Linked DNA regions of Homo sapiens: regions 1, 3 and 4 are each linked to region 2. The links are contacts of gene promoters, found by promoter capture Hi-C in blood cells and fetal thymus (Javierre and others, 2016). All regions are on one chromosome and are shown on one strand. The core of a region is centred on a gene start or on the middle of the fragment in contact, and the rest is flanking DNA. Distances in the headings are between cores, read along the strand shown.

Region 1 (3,189 bases), core at 157-2,656, 1.8 Mb after region 2:
GAGCTCCGGCTCTGCCGCCGCGGCGTCGGGGTCGCTGCCGCCCAGCCCAGGCGGGGCTCGGGTTCCCGCTCCTCTGATGTTTACGTTTGGTCAAAAACTCCTCAGACAGAAATAACTAATGCCTCCCCCCGGAAGCTTTTACCACGTGGCAGAGTGGGGTCACAAAGGGGGGAGCAGTGGCACGAAGGGGATGGGGAGGAAGACCTCCCTGTTCCCTCCCCCACCCTGCAGGGGCCTTCCTCTTAGGCTGCAGAGCCGAGGGTCGCTCTCCGTGGTGGAGTTCCCTCTGCAGAAGACCCCTGGAAAATTGCACTTCAGCAGTGGTGACATTTTATAGGCCATGATTTGCTGCATTTATGGCTCTGGCAGTGCAGGTGCGGAGTCGTAGGCTCCCGTTCTCACCCTGCAAATTGCTCACAGTGCAATCTGTCATCTTCAAGGCTAGGTGTGAACCGGGCAGGGTTGCCCTTAAAACGGAATTGCAGTTAAAGGCCGGGATCTGGAAGGAAGCGCTCTACCCCGGGGCGTGGCCTTTCCCACCGGCTCTGGACCTTTCCTTCAAGCCCCGCCATGCGCGCCCACCGACTTGGCTGTCGCAGCCTGGGGGCACTGGGCGCCCTGGGCTCTGCCTGCCTGCAGAGCTCTCATTCTTTCCGTTCCAGGCCTGTGGAATCCTCCAGTGAACAAGGCCTCATGCTGGCCTCTGCCCCACCCCACTGCGAGGAGCCGCTCCTCCTCCGAGGCCTATGGTTTTTCTCCCCGCGGAGTGGGCTTGGTGGGAGCACCGCGTGGCGCAAACAGCACGGGGGGACTTTGGAATCGCCTGGACTTGAGCCCTGCCCCACCACGTGTTCGCTGTGTGAATGTGGACAGGGTGGTTACCCTCTCTACAGCCCGCGTCTTAAAATGGGAGTAGTAACAACCCCCTCAACAGTTGTTCTGAGGATTAAGTGAAATTCAGATTTCATAGGAGACCTTTTTCAATAGTCAAGTCTCTCGCCTTTATGAGTCAAGTTCCACTGGGGCCAGAGGCCCTGTGGTTGTTTCTGAAAACAAGGTCAGCAGAAGTGCTAGACCCATTGTTTCCTCAACTCAGCCCTTCCCCCTACACTCCTGGCAAAGTGGAGCCCGCAGCCTCTTCCGACCCACTTCCACCTTCACCCACACCCACAGGCTTACAGGGCAGAGCTGTTTTGTTGACGGGGCGGGGGTGGGGGTGGGGACGTGGAAACTGTACCTCTGACCTAAGCTGGACCATTCACGGCCCTTCTCAAATTTCCCTCCCCCACCTTGCCACAGGGGATTGGTCCCAGCGGGAAGAGCTGACATATTTGAATCCAATCAAAAGCCTTCTTGGGAAATTTTGAAACTGGAAGTGAAAAAGTCAGTTTCTCCCCAGGGCTAAAACTGCAAGATATTATAACATACATGACCATGTTTCCCATGGTCAGGAGAGGAGAGGCAAGGCCAATCTGAAGGCAGAAACAGAGATAAAGATCGAGCAGAAAACAAAGATAGAGCCTCAGCCACAGCCAGACAGGCTGGGAGAGAGCGCTGAGGCCAACAGGAGTCTAATGTTATTGGCAGCATCGGTTCCTGTGTCCCTGGTACAGCCCTGCCTGCCCCCGATTCCTTGCGACAGCCCATTATTTTTTGCCACAAATTCTTATTGTTTAACCTAGTTTGTGTTTTTGTTGCTTCTAATCCAAAAATCCCATGGCATTTACTAGTTTAACTTACACAGTATGTCAGTTGAGTTCAAGAGCTCCCCAGCCCCATTATAACCCCCCGAGAAGTCTTCTATCCTCCGCAGCATATGTCAGTGCCCCATAACAAGGTGCTCAATAAATGCTCTTCAGATTGCACTGAGCAAGTTGTGAGTGGACGGGAAGTGCCCTGGTGGCTGTTGAAACTGGAGGCTTCAACTGGTTAATTTAAAGGGGAAGCATCGCCAATTGCCACAGACTTCTAGAAGCCCATTTATTGTACCCTAGTGGTAATTAGGGCTTATTCAAGTGAATAGAAAGAGAAAAGAGAAGAAACTTTATCCCCTCTAAATTGCATTTAATAAAAATCTTGGAGAAAATGAGTGAATTGTCAGGCTTAATAATTTCCCCTGGGTCTTTGTTGGAGGGAGGCTGAGGAAATGTACAGTATTCTACATTTATAGGACAGCAGATCTGCATTTTAACAGAGTAAAATGCAGTCGTGGCTTACCCTCCTTTTTTCCCCCTTCATTTGTTTCCAAAGGGTTTTTTTCCAGCTCATGAGTCACTTCCAGTCAGATTCAAAGACAAAAGCCGGCTAATTGTGTGTCCATGAGTCAGGGTCCCACCCTGCCTTATCTGAACACCCTTTCTAGCTCTGAGAAGACAGAGCAATTTTCAGCCTATAAGGCATTGAGTGGAACCTGTTACACACCGCTTCTGGGTCAGGCTCTTTAGGGAGCAGTCCAGGCCCTTCCATTTCCTTCTGGCATCTGGCAGCTGATAGCACCTTGGGGTGTTTCCTTGCCAGTGTTATTTTCAGTCAGGAACTGTGCAGTCTACCCTGTTCCTAAGGCACCCTGTTGAGCCCAGAGAGATAAAGGTGAATTTAAAAGGAGGTCTAAACCCTCTAGCAATTTATCATATAATGAAGGAGAAAGGCAGAAAAGAATCACTGTTAGACAAGCTTTGAGGGTTATGGAAGAGTAAGTGCTAAGACTAATGATTTCTCAGTCTGCACCCCTTGCTGTCTCTCAGCAGCATTTTATCTGGTTGACTTTCCAACTACTTGAAACATTTTATTTCCAGACCTCCCTGATGTTACTTTGTTTTCCAAGCAGTGTCTATTTCCCACCCCCACTTTTTCTCTTATCCTTATGCCTTACATTCTCCCTCTTTCTAGATATCTCACTTCCAGATAATGGTACCACATCCAGCTGGCTGCTCATGCCCCAGAGACAATTCCTGATTTTTTTTTTTTTCTTTTTGAGACAGAATCTCGCTCAGTTGCCCAGGCTGGAGTGCAGTGGCATGATCTTGGTTCAATGTAGCCTCCGCCTCCTGGGTTCAAGGATTCTAATGCCTCAGCCTCCTCAGTAGCTGGGATTACAGGCGTCCACCACCACATCCAGCTCATTTTTGTATTTTTAGTAAAGATGGGGTGTCACCAGGTTGGCTAGGCTAGTCTCAAACTCTTGACCTC
Region 2 (3,281 bases), core at 631-3,130:
AAATGTGAGATGAAAAAACTTAAGCAAAATACCAACACACACACACACACACACACACACACACACGTAAACACACACAGTCCTCTTCAGATAATTTTGGCTGATGACACTGCAGAACAGTTAATCTGATAATTAAAAATTTCCAGAACATGTGATGTTTAGATGGAGATCTATGCTGTCAATCGGACCTCAGTGCTTCAGTTAAAAGGAAAAAAAAAAAACACCAAAAACTTAAAACCTGAATACAAAGACACGTTAAATTGTTAAGACTGTAGTTGCTTTGAAAGCAAAGTGTTTTGATTTATCCAAACTAACTTAGCAACACGGTATTTTGAGTATTTTCCAGAAGTTTTCTTAAAACACGCAATCCAGCACATAAACAAATTTTGTACGGTGCAATGTAAGCAAATACTCAGAAAAATTCAATTTCTAAGCAGGATAACATATGACCAATATTGCCCTCAGTGGTTCAAAAGTCGCAGTAGAAATAATCCCCTGAGATAACCTGGAATTTACCTACCCAAGTATTCTAAGGGGTTCTCCCCGGCCACACAAACTATGATTCAAAACATCGTTCCGAAAACCCAGGTCCTGCATGTGCACAAAGGCGCAGTGCTGGAATGAGGAAGCTTCACCAAGATGAAATCACAACTCTAATTCATTAAAGAATATGCAGACTGTTTTCTAGAAAGACCCTCTTGTTGCGCTCCCTTTACCCTACCCTTTATTTAACCATGTAAACAGTCTCAATTATTGACATAAAAAAATAGCTTTCGATTCCCAAGTCTGGTAACACGGTTGGCCACCATCACTATTCCTTTAGCATCCTAAAATAAACCCCTCGAGCCGAGGTCAAAAACACGCCGGCTGAACGTCTGGTGTTTACATAGCCCAATCCCGGGCCCTACCCTACCTTTCCGAGCCACTTAAGAGCCATGGAACAGGCATCACATAATACACTTAGTAAAGAGACAAGTCACATGAGTCAGTGTCTCAGGTCTATGAATGAAAGATCTAAGCGTTTGTCTCAGCTAAAAGGAAAAAACAACCTCGAAAGGAAGGGTGGGAGGGGAGCTGGCGGGGGTGAGGGGAGCGGTGTTCCTTCCATACCCCTGCCGGGCGATTTAAACCCAGTAAGAGGCAAACGCAGGGCCGCCAGGCTGGCGGGGCCGGAGTCCTCGGGCGTGACAGCCCCTCAAGAAAAGCTCGCGGTTTCGCGCCCGCGTCCCTTGAGCCGCAGTCCTCGCGGCAGCCCCTCCACCCGCGGGCTGGGTGGGCGTGCAGGGCGCGGGAGACAGAGCCACCGCGGCCGGGGCGGCGGCCCTGGGCGCACTTCCTCAACCTCCAGCCGCCCCGTCCCCAAAACTGGGAGTAGAAGCAAAGGAAGAGCGAGGCGGCAGCCAGAGAGAAAGGAGAGGGAGCGGCGAGCCCTCGCCTCTGCAGCTAGGAGAGGCCAGAGGCAGGCGAGGGAGAGGGTGCGGCGATCGCAGGCGAACTCCGCCGCGGGCCGACGCTGGGAGACGACCAGCCCGTAGCCTCCGCCCAACACGGCGGGCGCGCCCGGGAGTCTCCGGCACCCACCCGGTCCCCATTCCCACCGCACCCGCTACCGGCCAGTCCGCGCTCTACTCACGCTCGGGGCTCTTCCAGGCTCCGCGGCTCTAACCGCATCGGGTCCCAGCCCCGCGGGCGGCGGCGGCGGCGCCGAGGGAGAGGAGAGCGGGCGGCACGGCCCCCGCCTCCCGGCCCCTCTCCCCCGCCGCTCCGGAGCTGCCCGGCCGGGCCCGAGCCCTGCCTCGCCGGCGGCCCCAGCCCCAGTCCCAGCGGCCGCGGCAGCAGCAGCCCGACACCTCAGCGGCCGCAGCGGCGGCACCGGAACTGCCGCTTTCTACTTCTCGCTCCCTCTCCTCGCTAGCCCCCGCCACACGCCCCCGCCCCCGACTCCTTTCTCCGTCGCCCCTGTTTTTTTTTCCTTTTGTTTCCAGAATAAACTTTATTGGTCTCTTTTTCCGCTCACATCGTGTAAACAAACAACGAACTCTTCCCCACCCCCTCGGCCCCCCCCCTCCTCCGGCAGAAGAGGGTAAGAGCTGAGGAGGGGCAGAGCCTACAATCCCCCGGAAGCAGATGCGCAAAGAAGCGGAAGCGAAATTGAGGCGAGGAGGAGCAGGGAGTGGGCAAATAGGGTAACAATATGTGCTACTGCGCCTGCGTCTTGCTTTTCCGCCCGAAGTTTATGTACAGTTGGGGCTGCTCTTCTGACGTTTGTTTAATGATCCGTCTTCTGCAGTAGTGAGGGTGTTGTGTCATCCTAGGACAGCGTACGTGTAGTATATTTGTTTCTACGAGCAGCAGGCGAGCTGGGGTAGAGATATAGAAAGGAATATTGGGAGCAAGTGGGTTATTTCACTTTTACACCCATAGAGGAAACGAGATTAGTTCGGGGGTGAGAGGAGGTGCGGTGGCTAACCGCCGCTGTCAGTGGCTAACCAGCGTGGTTATGGATTCTATAATAGAAAGAATGCTTTTTACAAAGCGTTGCTGTGCGTTCTTCTGCCGACATGGTTTAAGTTGTATACCATCCCGAAGGCGGAATGCACTGTCACAGCCCTCTGCAGTCCTTTGACTCACTTCGTGGAGACCTTTTGCTATGCCCTCATTTTTTTTTTTAAATCGAATTCTGATTCGAAGCAGCTTGTAGGATTCAATTCTAACTATTCAGAAGACGTGGGGGATTTTTCGCGTAATGCCAACAGAGACTTCAGAAATGTCATATAGGCTATAGATTTGATTCAAGGTAGTGTCTTGGTGCTGCGTACCTTAGAAGTCTGTTTGCTTGAGAGTAAATCAATCTGTTGACTTTTGAGATTACTACTGATAAGGGTTCGGTACTGTGCGTTTTTCTCCCCCTACTGGTCTTTTGTTGTAATATTGGAAAAGCGTAGGAGCAGTGATTAGAAGTCTGAGATACAAGTACTCCAGCATCGGTTCCTCCTTGAATTTTTAAGTAATAGAGGGCTTGGGAAGTGACCCATCCTAGAGATGTTACAGTCCTACTTGTCCTCTAGAGCAAAACTCTGACCAATAACAGTCTTCTCGAACACCGCACGTCCGTCCATACCCCAATGGTAAATGAGATGGATCTGTTCCTCTTTGTGGTCGTAGTTTCACTTGACTGTATTTCTTTCTTTTCTGTGTTTTCTTTCTTTCGTCCTTTTTCTCCCTTTAGCTCGGATTTTCATCTCACATTCCAGGGGTTTGTGTTTCTAAATGTTTTTCTC
Region 3 (3,365 bases), core at 172-2,671, 2.0 Mb after region 2:
CTCAGCGTCTTAATTACTTTGTTCTTTGCCTCATACTCTGCCCTGAGATTGTTATATAGCTGATTCTTTTATGTCATTCCCTCTCAGTTCCAATGCCAACACCTCAGAGAGGTTACACTGAAATTACTGCCCACCCGCGGCAGTTTTCAGCCATCAGACCCTTATTCTCCACGTTGCAGTTTTGTCTCTCTGAAGTAACTTTGATCATTGTTTTTTTTTTTAAACGTCCCTCCAGAATTTAAACTGCATGAGAACAGGGAGGGGCTCTATTTTATGTGTCATTCTGTCTGCAGCTACCTAGAACAGGACCTAGCAGGTTCGTAATAAATAGTTGAGTGGATTGTTGTCTTAGGTATGTTTTCATGATTAGCTGGTAGTCTTAAATTGGTTCATCCTTATAATTAGAGTACTGGAAATAATTTATTAAAAGGTTAGCATTTAGGGGAGGGTCAGAAGAGGTTTTACTAAATGTTGAAATTTGGAAGCCCAGGGACATATGTGAGTGCCATACTTAAAGATGGCAATCGAGTCAAATAATAGAAAAAACGGGTAAATGGATAATTGATGGACCAATCTGAAAATGTGCTTTGTACTGATGATAATCATAAATGAGAAGTTAATGTTTTATTTTTATTTTTATTTTTTTTGAGATGGAGTCTTGCTCTGTCGCCTAGGCTGGAGTGCAGTGGCGCAATCTCGGTTCACTGCAACCTCTGCCTCCTGGGTTCGAGTGATTCTCCTTCTTCAGCCTCCTGAGTAGCTGGGATAACGGGCGCACGCCACCACACCCGGTTAATTTTTGTATTTTTAGTAGAGATGGGGTTTCACCGTGTTGGTCAGGCTGGTCTCGGACTCCTGACCTCGTGATCCGCCTGCTTTGGACTCCCAAAGTGCATGGGTCAGAACTCCTTTAGTTATATGATAGAAACTTCATGCAAACTTTTGGCTTAAGTTAAAAAGGGTATTCATTGGCATTGGCATATGGAATCCAAAAGTGGACTGATTGATTGGGAAGAGCATTGAGTCAGCTGGGATTTAGGAGCAACCGGAACCAGACCCATTTGGATGCTACCAGTAATCTCTGTCAACAGCCCTGCTATTTTCCTTTTTCAAAAAATTGAGATGGCTTCCCTTTGTTGCCCAAGCTGGAGTAAAGTGGTGCGATCACTGCCTCCTGCAGCCTTGACCTCCTGGGCTCAAGGAATCCTCCCACCTCAGCCTCGTCAGTAGCTGGGACTACAGACGTGCCCCACCATAGCCAGCTAATTTTTAAATTTCTTTTTTGAGACAGAGTTTTTCTTCTGCCCAGGCTGGAGTGCAGTGGCGCAATCTTGGCTCACTGCAACCTCTGCCTCCCGTGTTCAAGTGACTTTGCTGCCTCAGCCTCCTGAATAGGTGGGATTACAGGCATGCGCCATCACGCCTGGCTAATTTTTTGTGTTTTTAATAGAGATGAGGGTTTCTCCATGTTGGCCGGGCTGGTCTCGAACTCCTGACCTCAGGTGATTCACCTGCCTTGGCCTCCCAAAGTGCTGGGATTACAGGTGTGAGCCAGCTTGCCCAGCCATAATCAAACATTTAAATAATATTAGCATTTAAGAAAATTAACCAGTGGCTCACACATGTATTCCCAGTACTTTGGGAGGCCGAGGTGGGTGGATCATCTGAGGTCAGGAGTTCGAGACCAGCCTGGCCAACATGGTGAAATTCCGTCTCTATTAAAAATACAAAAATTAGCCAGGCATGGTGGCGCAAGCCTGTAATCGCAGCTACTCGGGAGGCTGAGGCAGGAGAATCGCTTGAGCCCAGGGGGCGGAGGTGTTGCAGTGAGCCGAGATCGCACCACTGCATTCCAGCCTGGGCGACAGAGCCAGACTCCATCTCAAAAACAAAAAACAAGAAAATTAACAAGTTACATATTCTGAACAACTTATTATTTTATTGATTTTTATTTATTTTACTTTTTAAATTTTCCCCCAGATATCAGTGCTGCAAATTTATTTATTTGTTTATTTTAATTAATTTTTTTTTTTTTTTAGAGACAGAGTCTCGCTCTGTTGCCCAGGCTGGAGTGCAGTGGCGCTATGTGGGCTCACTGCAAGCTCTGTCTCCTGGGTTCACCCGCCATTCTCCTGCCTCAGCCTCCTGAGTAGCTGGGACTACAGGCGCCCACCACCACGCCCGGCTAATTTTTGTATTTTTAGTAGAGATGGGGTTTCACCGTGTTAGTCAGGATGGTCTCGATCTCCTGACCTCGAGATCCGCACGCCTCGGCCTCCCAAAGTGCTAGGATTACAGGCATGAGCCACCGCGCCTGGCCTGAATAACTTATTATTTTAATGCTTCATTAGGTCACCAAAATAAGTAAATGGGTTGCCATGTAGAATAAGCCTTTTGTGACTTAAGATATTTGTTTCTGGATTTCAGTTGCTTCATCCTTAACACGTTATGTTGAATCTCTGAGAGGTTTTTTCTGGACCTAATGTTCTTTAACCCTATGATTGCATATATAATTTAAAAAATTAAGTGTGTTCACCCAAATTACAGGGAGTGTGTACAATACTGATCTCTGCCTGCACTGGTTTTTCTTAAAACATTTGCGTTTTCCAGGCACGTTCTCAATTTTGAATACATTAGTCTCAAAATATTTTTTAGATATCTGAAGAGGAAACTTCTATTTTATTCATTAAACTTGTGAGTTCAGGTGCATTTGTTACATTCTGTTTCATGGAAGAGAGAATTAAAATAATATCACCAAACACATTTTTGAGAATGATTTTTTTTCCTTTAATATCTTTATTTTCATGGTATGATTCCTGAATGTCAAAGCCAATTCTTCAGCAGCTAAGCTTTTATTTTGCTTTGTCTTGGAAATTGTGTACTAAAACTGTGTTTGTTAAGTAGTACAATACAATGTTATTCACATTTATAATCTTCTAAATACTAAAATAAGTTTCAGGAGCTGCTTATATTAAGTGCTAATTGAGAACCAGTGTACATTAAAATAATTTACCATAAAAAATAAGACATGAGAAGAAGGCAGGTGTCAGGGAATAAAGATGCCAAACAGTTTGGTCTTTTCTGGCAAACAGTTTTGTTTATGTCTAGCGTACAGTTTTTAAGTTGGTAAATGATGAGAAGGAGCTGGAAATTGGTAAGCAGGGCTCATATCATAAAGTGACTTCTTTGCTGTGCCTAAGGACATTCTTCTGACCGTAATAGGAACTAGTGAAGGATTTTAAACGGAACGGCAGGATTATGTTTCAACCTTGGATGTGTAGTGTGTGAAGGATGAGATGAGGATTTGGGAGGGAAGGGCCTTAGCTCTGGACAGGGGAGAAAGTTGAGCTGGTAGTAGTGTAATA
Region 4 (3,490 bases), core at 837-3,336, 1.8 Mb before region 2:
AAAAAAAGTTGGGCCTTCTCTTCACTCAAATTCCACAGTTCCACACCCCCTCAAACAATTTGGCCTAGCCCTCTCCCCACCTGTTACCACTTTAGCTCTTTAAAAGTCAAACTGAGTATTTTCAGGGCAAGTAATTGTGTTCACACCCTAGAACAGAGTTTAGGTGAATTCGCCTTATTAAAAGTAGTCAGACAAACTTAATAGAGCAGGAGACCACGTTTTCCTCTGTTAAATGCATGCAAATTTCCGCAAATAGGATCAAAGCAGAACCATCTCCAGTTTTGTAAGCATAACAAATACTTTGGGTATGGATTTTAACAACTTAATACTGAAGCTCCTTCCCTAAGCAAGGGCTTTGGAAAATAATACTATAAGTGCTCCTTGTTATACTTACATTATTACCGTTTTCGCAGAAAAACTTAAGAAAGGATACTTTGCTAACATTCTATACTTCCCATGAAACGCCCACTGACCCAGTTTTTCAGATTCTAAAAAAATAAAATGTACACAACATTTTATGAGCACGTCTGCATCTCTGAAGATTCTGGGAAAAAATGAGGGCTGTGAAAGTGCTCACTGTTGTTATGTACAGGATATTCTATTTATTTATTTATTTAGAGACAGGGTCTCACTCTGTTACCCAAGATGGAGTGCAGTGGCGTGATTACGTGGCAGCCTGGACTTCCCAGGCTCAGGTGATGCTGCCACCTCAGCCTCCCGAGTAGCTAGGACTACAATATTTATTTTATTTTATTTTATTTTATTTATTATTATTTTTTTAGACAATCTCGCTCTATCGCCCAGGCTGGAGTGCAGTGATGAGATCTCAGCTCACTGCAACCTCCGCCTGCTGGTTCAAGTGATTCTCCTGCCTCAGCCTCCGGAGTAGTTGGGATTACAGGCGCGCACCACCACACCCAGATAATCTTTTTGTGTTTTTAGTAGAGATGGGGTTTCACCATGTTGGCCAGGCTGGTCTGGAACTCCTGACCTCATGATCTGCCTGCCTCGGGATTGCAGGCATGAGCCACCGTGCCCAGCCTATGTATTCACTCCCGGCCTATTTTTTTTTTTTTTTTTAAGACAGGATCTCTATCGCCAAGGCTGAAGTGCAGTGGCACAATCATAGCTCACTGTAACCTTGAACTCTTGGCCATCCCACACTGGGCTGGGATGTTCTTTTTAAAGTGTTGATCATCATGAGAAAAATGTAAACAACTAAATGCCCATCAATGAGTAATAGCCACCATTTATTAAGGGCACCTTATGCTAACACTCTATATTGTATCTCATTGTGATCCTTCAGAATTATAATGTCCCATTTGCTTTCTTAAAAAGTTTTCTTTAGATATAATTCTCCCATTTATAATGTACAATTCAGTAGTTTTTAGTATATTCACAGATTTGTGCAACCATCACCACAGTCAATTTTAGAACATTTTCATCACTGCAAAAATAACCCCATACCTGTTAGCGTTCACTCTAGATTTAACCCCAGCTCCCCAGGCCCTAGGAAATCACTATCCTGTTTTCTACCTATATAGATTGGCCTAGTCTAGATATTTAATATAAATGAAATCGCGGAATATGTGTTGTTTTATGACTGGCTTTCTTTTTTCTTTTTCCTTTTTTTTTTTTTTTGAGACAGAGTCTCACTCTGTTGCCCAGGCTGGAGTGCAGTGGCTTGATCTCCACTCACCACAACCTCCACCTCCTGGACTAAAGTGATTCTCCCGCCTCAACCCCCTGCCCCACAAGTAGCTGGGAGTACAGACACCACCCACCACGCCCGCCTAGCCTAATCTTTGTATTTTTTGTAGAGATGGGGTTTCACCATGTTGCCCAGGCTGGTCTCGAACTCCTAAGCTCAAGTTATCCACTGCCTCCGCCTCAGCCTCCCAGAGTGCTAGGATTACAAATGTAAGCCACTGCACCTGGCCTATGATTGGCTTCTTTCATTTAGTATAATGTATTATAGTTTCATCCATGTTGTAGAATGTATTACTACTCATTCCTTTTTGTCAAATATACTGTTGTATGGATATACCACATCATTTTATTTATTAATTCATCAATTGATAGAAGTTTGCTTTGTTTCTACTTTTTGGCTGTTAGGAATAATGCTGCTATGAAAATTGCTGTATATGTTTTGGTATAGACAGATGTATGTTTTTGTTTCTCTTGGGTATATAGCTAGAAATGGAATTGCTGACTCGTGATAACTCCATGTTTAAACCTTTTGAGGAATTGCCAGACTTTTCCAAAGTGGCTGCATTATTTGCATTCCCACCAACAGTGTATGAGGGTCCCAGTGTGCTTTTCTTTATGGGTTCCCCTCTCCTTTCCTGTCCTCCCCTCCCCTCCCTTCTCTTCCTTTTCTCTTCTCTCTTCTCTCCTCTCTCTCTCTCTGTTTTGGCTTTCAGTGTATTTTTTGTTTGTTCTCAATGTGAGTGATTTTGAGTATGGATGCGAAAGTTCCACTTGGGCACAGGCCAAAGCATCTCATACTGCCTGAACTCTAAAGAATAAGTATTGTCCCTCTTCAGGCCTTGCATAGCGAAAACATTTGAATTTGGAACCCAGCCAACACTTTACTACTTCTTCTAGGTAGACTTCGTGATTTCAATTAAGCAACTGAGCCCTATAGCAACCAGTAACACATGTAAGATCAGACAAGCTGTAAGTGTCAGAACTACGATTTGAGCCCTCTTACTTTCCATTTCCAGTGCCACATCAATGACTGTTTGCAGCCTCCATATAATATTCAAAATGGGACATTACACAAACTTTAAAATTTTGATGTAGATCTATTTTCATCATCATAAAAAGATGTTCACTTTAAAGAATGTCACAAAACACCATACATAATCATATTAAAATATATATGCAGTGTGTATATACATATATAAAGTCTGAAAGTTAATATTTCCATATATTATTAGAGGATATTTCCAGAAGATGGGCTAATGATTTACGTAAACTATATAATGTCTATATTTTTTGCCTCATCTGAATTTTTCACAATGAGCATGTTACCTGATCAAAAAAAAAAAAGTTCTTTTTGGCTGGGCACAGTGGCTCATACCTTTAATTCCAGCACTTTGGAAGGTCAAGGCAGGGGGATCACTTGAGGCCAGGAGTTTAAAGCCAGGCTGGGCAACATAATGAGAGCTCGTCTCTACAAAAGCGACAAAAGTTAGCAGGGCGTGGTGGTGTGCACCTGTAGTCCAGGCTACTCAGGAGGCTGAGGCAGGAGGATTGCTTGAGCCTGGAGGTCGAGGCTGCAGTGAGCTGTGTTTGCACCACTGCATTCCAGCCAGGGCAACAGAGCAATACACTGTCTCAAAAAAAAAAAGATATTTTCATTTTTAAATACTATACCATGGAATCTTCTACAGCCACTAGCAATGAAATTATAGAAGACTATCTACTGATATGAGAAGATGTCTATAACTGTAAAAAGCAGCTTATATATGCAACCAATTTTGTA

What was found. Contacts are between HindIII fragments. The CHiCAGO score rates a contact against its expected background, and 5 or more counts as called.
Region 1: a fragment that was not itself captured here is called in contact with the fragment with the promoter of PIK3CA in region 2 in 1 of 17 cell types (fetal thymus); the score reaches 5.5 in fetal thymus.
Region 3: a fragment that was not itself captured here is called in contact with the fragment with the promoter of PIK3CA in region 2 in 1 of 17 cell types (naive CD4 T cells); the score reaches 5.4 in naive CD4 T cells.
Region 4: a contact is called between a fragment that was not itself captured here and the fragment with the promoter of PIK3CA in region 2, in 6 of 17 cell types (fetal thymus, monocytes, naive CD8 T cells and 3 more). The highest score is 9.8, in fetal thymus.

What each region holds. Positions count from the first base shown.
Region 1 is chr3:177,356,747-177,359,935 of GRCh38, reverse strand. No RefSeq gene overlaps it. Among named protein-coding and RNA genes, the nearest start is that of LINC00501, 64 kb to the right of the region's middle. RefSeq lists enhancers at 1-55, 1-407, 1,081-1,375, 1,262-1,501, 1,622-1,821. The HindIII fragment of the contact is 2,538 bases long and covers 138-2,675 here.
Region 2 is chr3:179,146,956-179,150,236 of GRCh38, reverse strand. PIK3CA (phosphatidylinositol-4,5-bisphosphate 3-kinase catalytic subunit alpha) reads right to left here and starts at 1,880. Exons shown (of 21, transcript NM_006218.4): 1 at 1,634-1,880. It overlaps PIK3CA-DT (PIK3CA divergent transcript), which reads left to right and starts at 2,264. Exons shown (of 3, transcript NR_125401.1): 1 at 2,264-2,321. RefSeq lists enhancers at 406-455, 1,017-1,516, 2,326-2,445, 3,056-3,165 and silencers at 1,256-1,305, 1,366-1,835. The HindIII fragment of the contact is 3,906 bases long and covers 632-3,281 here.
Region 3 is chr3:177,174,732-177,178,096 of GRCh38, reverse strand. All of the region lies in intron 1 of TBL1XR1 (TBL1X/Y related 1), which reads left to right. Among named protein-coding and RNA genes, the nearest start is that of TBL1XR1, 21 kb to the left of the region's middle. The HindIII fragment of the contact is 2,860 bases long and covers 1-2,851 here.
Region 4 is chr3:180,908,649-180,912,138 of GRCh38, reverse strand. No RefSeq gene overlaps it. Among named protein-coding and RNA genes, the nearest start is that of FXR1, 2.3 kb to the left of the region's middle. RefSeq lists enhancers at 1-7, 1-478. The HindIII fragment of the contact is 8,016 bases long and covers 1-3,490 here.